3 separate regions of the Homo sapiens genome follow, and all the other regions are linked to region 1. The links are contacts of gene promoters, found by promoter capture Hi-C in blood cells and fetal thymus (Javierre and others, 2016). All regions are on one chromosome and are shown on one strand. Each heading gives the region's core, a stretch centred on a gene start or on the middle of the fragment in contact. The rest is flanking DNA. Distances are from core to core; before and after follow the strand shown.

Evidence for each region. Contacts are between HindIII fragments. The CHiCAGO score rates a contact against its expected background, and 5 or more counts as called.
Region 2: a fragment that was not itself captured here is called in contact with the fragment with the promoter of NEK1 in region 1 in 3 of 17 cell types (total CD4 T cells, total CD8 T cells and total B cells); the score reaches 8.7 in total CD4 T cells.
Region 3: a contact is called between a fragment that was not itself captured here and the fragment with the promoter of NEK1 in region 1, in 2 of 17 cell types (naive B cells and naive CD8 T cells). The highest score is 7.4, in naive B cells.

The regions. Positions count from the first base shown.
Region 1 is chr4:169,610,062-169,613,899 of GRCh38, forward strand. NEK1 (NIMA related kinase 1) reads right to left here and starts at 2,522. Exons shown (of 36, transcript NM_001199397.3): 1 at 2,161-2,522; 2 at 1,959-2,082. RefSeq lists enhancers at 1,995-2,114, 2,535-2,594. The HindIII fragment of the contact is 11,256 bases long and covers 1-3,838 here.
Region 2 is chr4:168,993,945-168,997,434 of GRCh38, forward strand. The region is part of intron 4 of CBR4 (carbonyl reductase 4); the gene reads right to left. Among named protein-coding and RNA genes, the nearest start is that of CBR4, 15 kb to the right of the region's middle. RefSeq lists enhancers at 367-1,173, 1,174-1,979. The HindIII fragment of the contact is 190 bases long and covers 1,913-2,102 here.
Region 3 is chr4:168,920,038-168,923,708 of GRCh38, forward strand. PALLD (palladin, cytoskeletal associated protein) reads left to right here. Exons shown (of 22, transcript NM_001166108.2): 18 at 1,497-1,704. It also overlaps a transcript of CBR4 not described here. Among named protein-coding and RNA genes, the nearest start is that of CBR4, 88 kb to the right of the region's middle. The HindIII fragment of the contact is 2,789 bases long and covers 801-3,589 here.

The sequences.
Region 1 (3,838 bases), core at 1,272-3,771:
GGCTGGAATGCAATGGTGCCATTTCGGCCTCCGAGGTTCAAGTGATTCCCCTGCCTCAGCCTCCCAAGTAGCTGGGATTACAGGAGTGTGACACCATACCCAGCTAATTTTTGTATTTTTAGTAGAGACGGGGTTTCGCCATACTGGCCAGGCTGGTCTCGAACTCCTGACCTCAAATGATCCACTTGCCTCGGCTTCCCAAAATGCTGGGAATACAGGTGTGAGCCACAGCGTCTGACCCAGAATTTCTTTCTTTTTTTCTTTTTTCTTTGAGACAAGCCTCACTCAGTCGCCCAGGCTACAGTGCAGTGGCAGTATCTCGGCTCACTGCAACCTCTGCCTCCCGGGTTCAAGCAATTATCCTGTGTTAGCCTTCCAAGTAGCTGGGATTACAGGCACGCACCACCACGCCCGTCTAATTTTTTGTATTTTTGGTAGATATGGGTTCGCCAGGTCAGCCAGGCTTGTCTCAACCTCCTGACCTCAAGTGATCCACCCACCGTGGCCTCCCAAACTGCTGGGATTACAGGTAAGAGCCACAGCACCCAGCCACTAAGAATTTCTTTAAAGCCACAAATAAGCAATTTTGGACATAATAAAATTTTGTGAGCCACATATAAACAATTTTAGAGTATATGAATGGAAAAGCTCAACTTCGATCAATCTGGAACACATACTTAGGTTAAGCATTAAGCTCTCATCAGGTGTTTCAGATATTCTATAGACAGGCTGTCTTGAAGGGAAACATGGTAAAGGCATGGCAACAGGTTTCAAGAAGTCTTTTGGCGCTGTATGCAGCTACAATCCATACATACAGTTCTGCCTAAGCAATAAATACCATCTTGAATAGTGGGAGGGGATCCATTTATCTTCTCAGGAAAAAAGTTCTTTATCTTCCTTTATTCGAAAAAGCAGAAAGCAAAAATGGAATTTCTATTAGACTTTTTTCAAAATATTTTTTCTTCTCTGTAAGTCTATTCAGACAATATTCAACAGATTTTGTAGTAGAAACTACCAACAGGTAAATAAAGAATGTACATTCGTGAAAAGGTGTCATGTTCATGACTTAGACTAGAAGGCAGGAGATTAGACAGGGCAAAATTTACTTGGAATACAATGTCAATGTACTATTCACACGACCTCAAAAGAACTTCTGTGGTCAAGTCCGACGACCTTTATTAAATTCCTGACAGTGACTTTTAACGTGAAAAAAACCTGTTTTCCCACAAAATAGGCTCCTTACATTTCACCTAGAACAATGGATATTTTAAGTGAAACAGATCTGTAGAACCTCTAAAACCAGACAAATGTAAACTAGAAACAAGGAGTTACTTCTCTCCAAATTTGGCTCCCCTCCATCAGCTCTACAATACTGCTGCATCATAAAAAAAGGTCATTAACTTAGATTGGATGCCACTTTTAATCCTTCATAAACATTTCTAATGAAACATACCAAGGCAATAAAAAATATTTCTGCTTCCTAAAGCAGATCTTAAAGAACAAAAAATAGGCCTGCAAAAAAAGTTATGATAAACTCTTAAAGTAGTACAACAATTAATGCCTTACATATGGAAACTGTGTCAAATCATGGAAACAGAAATCTAAGATTACAGGGTAACCAGCTAACTACTACTCATATTCGCTTCCTAATTAAAATTTATCAGTAATTTAAGATTGGACACAACATAAGCAATGCAAATGCTTGCTTATCCATACTAAGATTCCTATTATTTTAATCCCATTACCGCTCTAGTTTTTAAAAATACCGTAATGTCCAAGAATCGCTTTGTTAATACAGAGTGTCTTAGAGAATTAACATTTAAATGAGATTAAGGTATTTTCCCTGCAAACACTTAAGGTATCTGTGTAATCTCAATATAAGCAGTTCTACGCACATCTCATTTCCAGGATGATTTTTACCATTTTGCATGTCATTCCTTCCCCCAAGTGGAACTCACCTCAGTGACACAGGACGTTAGTAGGAATAACGGTGATGACTAATAAGCATCAGTCTAGGTGTGGCAGTCTTCCTACGGGGCTTAATAAAGCAGAGGTACCATCCCGCATTTTGAAAATGACATCCTGAAAGAGAAACCAAGACTGTCTAACCAGCAGCAGCTCACAGTCCAGACTGAAAGGGGGCACTGAGACTCTCCACACCTGACACTCGTCTTCAGTTGATACCACGGGTTTGACTCCGTCCTGTCTCGGGCGACGCCCGTAAGACAGGTCGACACTACCCCGACGAAACAAACAAACTGGTTTCTGAGCCCCGTAGAAACGGCGGGGTGCAGCAGGGGGAGTGCCTCCGTTACCGCCTCTCCAACTTCACAGAGGTCGTTGCTAGTGGCCACGGCGGGGTGGGGACGGGCGGCGTTCGGGACTGGGAAGCTACTTGACTGCCACGTGCTCCTGCCTCGCAACAGCGGCTCTAGATTCCGAGTTATGGGGACAACTGCTCGAGAGGCCAGGGTAGGGTAAGGACTCCGCAACCTAGGGTCCCAAAACCCTGGAGCGAATGCGGACTAAGGGAGAGCGGCCGGCGCGTCACCGGCGCTGGCGTGTGACGTCAGCGCGTGGAAGGCGGCACGCAGCGGAGGCGGCTGGGAAGGAGCAGTGAGGCTGGGCTAGAACCGTAGGGTCGGGCGGGGTGCTGTGCGAAGGGGCGGGCGGGGTGCTGTGCGAAGGGACGGGAGGGGCGGGCTCTGCAGGCGGGAAGACAGAAAGGACGAGACGGGAGAGATGAAAAGGATGGAGAGAGTGTAAAGCTGTTAAGAGTCATGCAGAGATGCGGGAGAGAACTCACTAGTTGAAACCAATTTGGAATATAAAGCATATAAAATTTTCCCACAGCTACTACACCGAGAAAGGGACTTTTTTATTTTACATGAAAGCGCACTACTTAGGGATGCCACATTTTAAAGAGCAATTTTGCTTTAAAAAGCAAGTCTTTTCCTATTATATCTTGGATGGTTGAAACAGAAGAATGTTTAAGTCTTGAGATATTTTTAAAAAGCTGTATGGGGTTTTCTACACCTTTACATCTAATGTATGTATAAATTACTTGTCTGTATGTTGAAGGGTTTGGAAATGTACAGCAGTCTAAGTACATTTTTTCACTGCAGGACTGGCGAAGGTAGGAAGAGATTCCCCTAAAACTATAATAAGGGATATCATCTGGCGTCATCCTGAGTGGCCCTACTCAGGGCAACTTTATTCCTAGGGACATTGAAAGATTTTGGCGGCTTTGCCAGACGATGGCGCTGCAAGTCACCCAACCTGAAAAGCTGGAGAGTTTGTTTTATCTCCTCTTCAATCGCCATACAGCTACAAAAGACTTATTTTCCTCATTCTTTCTACTTCTAGTCTACACTCCTGTGGGCCCTCCTACCCCCAGTTAGTAGGAATTATCATGTCTGAATGCACAATTGTAGTTCTACCCACATCCTTTTGTACATCAAAGTGAAGTGAAATGTTGCCAATTACTAATCTAAGCAAATTCTTTTTGCTGCTTACAGGAAGAATGGCTAGTCAGCTAACCTCCTTAGATAATTCTTTAGGCTCATGTCATAAACTATTGGTAGGACTACAAACTGCTACAGTCTTTCTAGAAGGTATGCTAGCAGTATGCATATCCTTTGACTCAGCAATTTAACTTCTGGAACAAGTGAGCAATGATTTATATACAAGGATAACCGTTATTGTTTATAACCAGAAAAACTAGAAATACTGTAAATGTATAACAATAAAGAATTGATTAAATTATAATATATCCAAACAATGAAATACTCTAAAGCCATTTAAAAGAGTAATCAAGATCTACTTTATTGACATACAA
Region 2 (3,490 bases), core at 758-3,257, 620 kb before region 1:
TATTAAAGCTATCACCCGAGAAAAGTCACGTGCTAAGACCAGCTCGGTCACGGAGACCTTAACACAGCAGCACTAGAGGAATTAAAGACACACACAGAAATATAGTGTGGAGTGGGAAATCAGGGGTCTCACGGCCTTCAGAGCTGAGAGCCTCAAACAGACATTCACCCACATATTTACTGACAGCAAGCCAGTGATAAGCATTCTTTCTATAGATGATAGATTAACTAAAAGTATTCCTTACGGGAAACAAAGGGATGGGCCGAAATAAAGGGATGGGTCTGGCTAGTTATCAGCAGCAGGAGCAAGCCCTTAAGGCACAGATCGCTCATGCTATTGTCTGTGGTTCAGGAACGCCTTTAAGCGGTTTTCCACCCTGGGTGGGCCAGGTGTTCCTTGCCCTCATTCCGGTAAACCCACAAACTTCAGCATGGGTGTCATGGCCATCACAAACAGGTCACGGTGCTGCAGGGATTTTGTTTATGGCCAGTTTGGGGGCCAGTTTATGGCCAGATTTGGGGGCCTGATCCCAACAGTCATGTACTATCTGCAACTGAATGACCATTTCTGTATCATAAAATGAATGTAATAGGTGGAAAATGACAGATCTCTGAGGTTTCTTTTCTGTTTTTTCTTTTTTGCTTTTTTTCTTTTGAGACAGTCTGGCTCTGTCACCCAAGCTGGAGTGCAGTGGCACAATCACGGCTCACTGCAACCTCTGCCTCCCAGGTTCAAGCAATTATCCTGCCTCAGCCTCCCCAGCAGCTGGGACAACAGGCGCCTACCACCACGCCTGGCTAATTTTTTTTTTTTTTTTTTTTTTTTTTGAGACGGAGTTTGGCTCCTGTCACCCAGGCTGGAGTACAATGGCATGATCTCAGCTCACTGAAACCTCCGCCTCCCGGGTTCAAACAATTCTTCTGCCTTAGCCTCCCGAGTAGTTAGGATTACACGCATGCATCACCACACCAGGCTAATTTTGTATTTTTAGTGGAGACAGGGTTTCACCAGGTTGGTTGGGCTGGTCTCAAATTACTGGCCTTAGGTGATCAGCCTGCCTTGGTCTCCCAAAGTACTGGGATTACAGGCGTGAGCCACCATGCAGCCTGGCCTGAGGTTTCTTTTAGCCCTACAACACTACGATTCAAAGATTAAAAGTATGCCTCATTAAGTACTCTTCATGACAACTTGACTTGAACTTTAGGAATGTAAGTTCCCTTAAAAGGGCCCTCAGTTCTTACATTGGTAGGTACATAGAGGTTAGAATACTTCCAATTCAAGAAGCACTAACGCTAACCTGGGTTTTCATCCATGCTGTGTTGAAAGGAACTGATCAGCCCTTCTTCTGGGTGGATGTTAGTTCTGATATGTTTGTCCTTTCGGAGACAAAAAGTAAGGCCACAAAAGTTGTGAGTGACCATTTGAACAGGTTTTTTCACCTCGGGGAAAAAAGCAGATCTAGAATAAGGCATGAGATACTGGAAGGTCTCCAAGCCTTAGACAGGCAAGGAGACCTAAGCAGTGAGACACTTTCAGGGACAATCCCAGTGAGATGGAAAGATGACCTCTACCACACAGACATGGGCTGACATCCTTCTTTCTGCTTGTATTACTTTCTAGTCTGTGCTCTCTCTCCTTGGCCCCAAAGGACTCTCCCCCATATCATCCTTTCATTTCATTTGTAAAACTCTGGAAATTTTGCTCTACTCCCCTTTTTGCTAGGTATACATTTACAATGCCTTTCACACTAGGCTATAAACATTACAAACTACCAGTAGGTGCCACTGTCCAACAAATAATGCTACTGCATCTCCTGGAGAGTTAGACGTTTCCAGTTTGGAGGACAGACATGTGATCCCCCAAAAACAACCAAGTAAGCTAGATATGGAACAGATAAAGGCTAACATCTTGAAGCTTTTAATAAGGTCTTGTTAAATGTTATAGCCTGGATTCATCTCTGCTATAGTCTATGTCTATGTTAGGTCAGATCTGTACAAGAGAGAGTGGTGCCCTCTGAATCCAACATGATTACAAGAAGTCCAGAACAGGAATGATGATGTTCAGCCACCCACCTCGAATGAAAAGTCTCCCTCCACTGCTCAAGCTTAGAAGATAAGGGTGTGATTTATTTAGGGAAAGCTTGCCACAATCTCTCCCCAGACCTATGAATGGATACTTGGAATAACAAATATCAGGGGACAGCTGCTAGCCATCACTGAACTCTGCACTAAAAGTAAAGTGGGTGAGAGAGGCCAAGTTGAAAGGAAGGGATGAATTCACCAATGCTGGTTTTTCCTCTTTGATTATGTTATTTTCTATGGAGGACATGAACATGTCCAAAGAGCCTCTCTTCATTTTCTGTAGCTTTTTAAAAAATTTATAAACTTTACATTTTTGAGGAATTTTAGGTTTACAGAAAAATTGAACACAACGTTCAGATAGATCCCATGCACCCCCTTTTCACATCACCCCCCCCTTTCCATTTCCCATTACTAACATCTTACCTTAGTGTGGCACATTTATTACAACTGATAAACCAATATTGATACATTATTAAGTAAAGTCCATAGTTTACATTAGGGTTCACTCTTTATTTTATATATTTATGTATTCATTTATTAATACCATTTTGTCTTCACAAGCTAAGGGTTCACTCTTTAGACTGTACAGTTCTACAGGTTTGGACAAATGCATAATATCATGTGTCCACCATTACAGTAGCAGACAGAATAGTTTTACTGCCCTAATAATCTGTCTGTAGCTTTTTAAAACTCATGTATCTGTCCCCACTTTATCAGAAATTAAATAAAATTTATCAGAAATTAAATTAAAAATGTAAAGCTAGTCTCTAATGATAAATTACTCTGGGCTGTATGGAACTTCCATGTCATTTTATATTAAAGGTTATGAACCACGTGATCTTCATTTATAAATATATTCACAACCCAGGACATGACATATAAATGGTCTCTTAGGTTCCATATCATGTATCACAGACCTGAAGAGAGAGATTAATAGTCCTTAAACAACTCACACACCCTTCTTACTACTTGTATTACTTTCCGGTCTGTGCTCTCTCTCCTTGGCCCCAAAGGACTCTCCCCCATATCATTCTTTCACTTCATTTATAAAATTCTGGAAATTGTGCTCTACTCCCCTTTTTGCTAGGTATATATTAACAATGCCTTTCAAACTAGGCTATAAAATTTACAGACTACCAGTAGATGCCACTGTCCAACAAATGATGCTACTGCATCACCTGGACAGTCAGAGGTTTCCAATTGGCTACAAAGTTATCACTTCTTAACTCGACGAAAAGATAACTGAAATGACAAGCATTAAACCAATTTAGAGCAAAGATACTTCTAGTTTAGTTCCATATATGTGATTAAAAACCCAGTTCAATTTTTATAGGAACTCTTTAGGAACAGGGACACTCTTGCTCAAAAAGGTAAATGCATGGCTCCTGCCCAATGAGGATTTATATTTG
Region 3 (3,671 bases), core at 945-3,444, 690 kb before region 1:
TCTAGGATCTAACCTGGTAAAGTAGGAACAAGCAGTGCCGCTTTGTTTCTAGATGTGGGAACAACAAGGAGCCTGACCAAAGATGTCCACTCCCTCTTCCTCCACACCACTTCTGATGACCTCCAAACAGGTCAGGCAGTGTACATGGAGAGCTGGGGACAGCAAGTGGATAGATAGGAGAACACAGAGCCTGAGTGTCTCAGAAGCCAAGCTGCCTAACTACTGCTGTTTGTTTCCAAAACCTCTTCATCCTTTTAACCAGTCATTTAAGTTTACTTTAAATGCTGTAGCCCTTTGCTACATGTGTGGTGGGAGGCATCTTGCAGGTAATATCAGTTGAGTATCACGTAGCAGGAATGGAATTTGTGAGTCCTCTGGCTGATGCTGGCAAAGCTAGTTCTTCAAAAGAACTGTTTTACAGTCTAAGTGACATCTTTTTGTATATAACTTCGTACTAGTAAAGTTGGGGGTAGGGGGTAAAAAGGCCTTCCTTAACAGTGCATTTCTTCCATTCAAAATCAAGGGCAAAACTAAAAAGCTGGCAGATGGCGACCATCCTGACCCTTTGCGGCACAACATGTTATTAGCAATTAAATGCTTTTATCTGATCTCTGGTCCACACAACTGTCAAGGTCTCAAGATTTTATGATGTTTCCATTGTGATGGTAATTTGTTGAGATGGCTTTCTGGGTAATTTCGTATTGCTCTTGTTATTCAGTTTCAAGGATTATAAAATAATAATAGCAGCCCTGTGTGCTGACGAATGCATTCTCCATAACTATGGCTGCTCCTTGATGAGAAGCTTTACAGTACTATATATAAATGCCAGCTGAGTATTTGTTATTATTGTTGGACATCTTTTTTCAAAGAAGCCCAGAGCCTGGTGCTGATATCATCCCATTAATCTCCATAGCCCTGGGCAAGGTAAGACCATGACAGCAATTTTTTAAATCCCATCTCGGTCTTCTCTAGGTTGCTCTGTAAGAATTGTTTAGATGTAAGCTGGTGAGTGCTCAGGAAGCCAAAGTTTAAAGCAAAAGTTTTAAGCAAAAGAGTAACATGAGCTGATACTAAAAGCCATCTCTTGGCCCGGTGCAATGGCTCATGCTTGTAATCCCAGCACTTTGGGAGGCTGAGGCAGGCGGATCACCTGAGGTCAGGAGTTCAAGACCAGCCCGGCCAACATAGTGAAACCCTATCTCTACTGAAAATACTAAAAATTAGGCTGGCATAGTGGCAGGCATCTGTAATCCCAGCTACTCAGGAGGCTGAGACAGGAGAATCGCTTGAACCCGGGAGGCAGAGGTTGCAGTGAGCTGAGATTGTGCCACTGCACTCCAGCCTGGGCAATAAGAGTGAAACTCTGTCCAAAAAAAAAAAAAAAAAAAAGCCACCTCTTGTACTACTGAAGGAGGAATTTATGCAGACTTCTTAGCTACCAGTGATTTCACTCTGTTTTAATACAAAAATTTACATGTATTTCTTTTATGATTTAGGTCAGTGGGTTACCAACCCCAGATCTAAGCTGGCAACTAGATGGAAAGCCCGTACGCCCTGACAGTGCTCACAAGATGCTGGTGCGTGAGAACGGGGTGCACTCTCTGATCATAGAGCCAGTCACGTCACGTGATGCCGGCATCTACACATGTATAGCTACCAACCGAGCAGGACAGAACTCATTCAGCCTGGAGCTTGTGGTTGCTGGTAGGCTCATCTGTGAATCCTTGCTCTCTGACAGAATGAACATCAGACTTACAAATGTAAACTAATTCTACATTACTAACCAATACGGAAAATAAAGTATTGAAAAAATAGATTGTATCATCAAAATAGCCAATGAGGACATGGTTATAAGGCCTAGCAAAACAGAAACAGAAATCTTTCATTTCTCCCACTAACCTGGCAAAGAGAGAAAAAGATTTTATTAGCTCTTTTGGGTCATTCGACCTCCTGTGTGTATAGTGGCCCCTAGTGTTACATAGAGAAATAGTAACAGCAGCATGGACTCCAAGAACCAAAGAATTTGCTTATATATAAAGTTTTATATTTATATATATATATATATACACACACACACACACACACACACACACACACACACACACACCTGGTTTTTAAAACAACACTGTCATCTACCCTCATAGTCATTGTCAAACTACACTCAGATTTGCTTTTTCACTGATTATTGTGTAGGTAAATTCTGTAAAAGTGCTGTTACATGAAGTCTTATGCTTTGAGAAGCCTAAAAGGAAAACACATTTATGGAAAGGTTTTTATACCATCCTTAAGAGTTAGGTGTTGAGTACCTGATCTCTTTTAAGAAAGAACATAACAAAACATTTATTTCTTCTACCTCTTTATGCAAAGTGCTTCATGTACATTATGTATCAGTTGGCCCTCACATGAGCCTTATGAGATAATCAGAGCAAATCTTCTCTGAATTTTCCAGGGTCCCACTTAGTAAGCTGATGATTAGATTTAACACAAGACTCCTAGTGCTCTTCTAAACACACTACGTCACTGAGCTCTTTCAAGAAATAGAGTAGCAATGAGAATAAAACCCAAGAAGTCTTGACAAAACTCTTGGATTATGATTCTGATAATGGTACCAAGATGTTTTCACATAAAAATGTGGTAAATATGTGGACTGTGGTGCTACAGGTTAGCCATGCTTTCAAGTTTTGTACAAAGTACTCTATATTCTTACATGCTACAATTGATTTCATTCCTCTAACCTCAAACTAAAACTTCACTTTTCTGCTGTTAAATATGCCTTTTGATCACATAGATACCTCAGTGCGCATCAGCTGGCACTCCTGTCAGAAGACGGTGATGCACAGTAATTGGAAGCAAAGTCTTTGGGGTCAGATCTGCTCCAGTCCCGGCTCTTGTCGATTTTACTAGTGTGACATTTGGCAAATAGCTATCTCTGCGACTTAGTTTCTCCATATATAAAATGGGAATATAATGCCTCACAGTGCTTTCCTAAGGATTAAATCATAAAAATGTGTATGAAGCTCTGCATAACTAGTACCCTGCACAGCAATGCTGCAAAGTGGTAGATGTTATTCTTACTGATGAGTTGCTATGACATTAAGACTTGTTTTATACATTTTATGTTCTTTGCAAAACTGGAGCCCCAGAAAGAATACAAAGTGAGCTTCTGTTCCCACTTCTCCCAGAATAGCCTAGGATGGGCAACCATGTAAAATTCAATAAAAATCCAACCTTCTAACTAACTCGTGGTGTTGGAGAGTATTAAGCATTTGAAAAGTTCAGGTAGAATTTTCATCCTTTTTGAGCTCTTTCCTAGCTGCTTTGCTGTGATATATCTGTCACTCCAGATGAGGGAGTAGTGGTGGAAAAGGAATGCATTCTCAGATTCATTGTTGGTAGTTCAAAAGAAAATAAGTAAACCTTATTCATTCTCTGAAGTACTTTCCACCACTACTACAACTGATCCAAGAAAACAATTTCCCATTGGATGGTATTATTCAGAGTGTTATTAACAATCAGTCCTGAATTTTTCAGAATAGTACTAAAGTTGTCTTTTTTTTTTAATGGGTTCCTTCCTTCAAGGTTATAATAAAGCTTTTTTATAACCTTCAAAGAATACAAAGTGGAATTTGTAATTTATAGGATATACATTCCTAGTTTACAGGTAACTATTT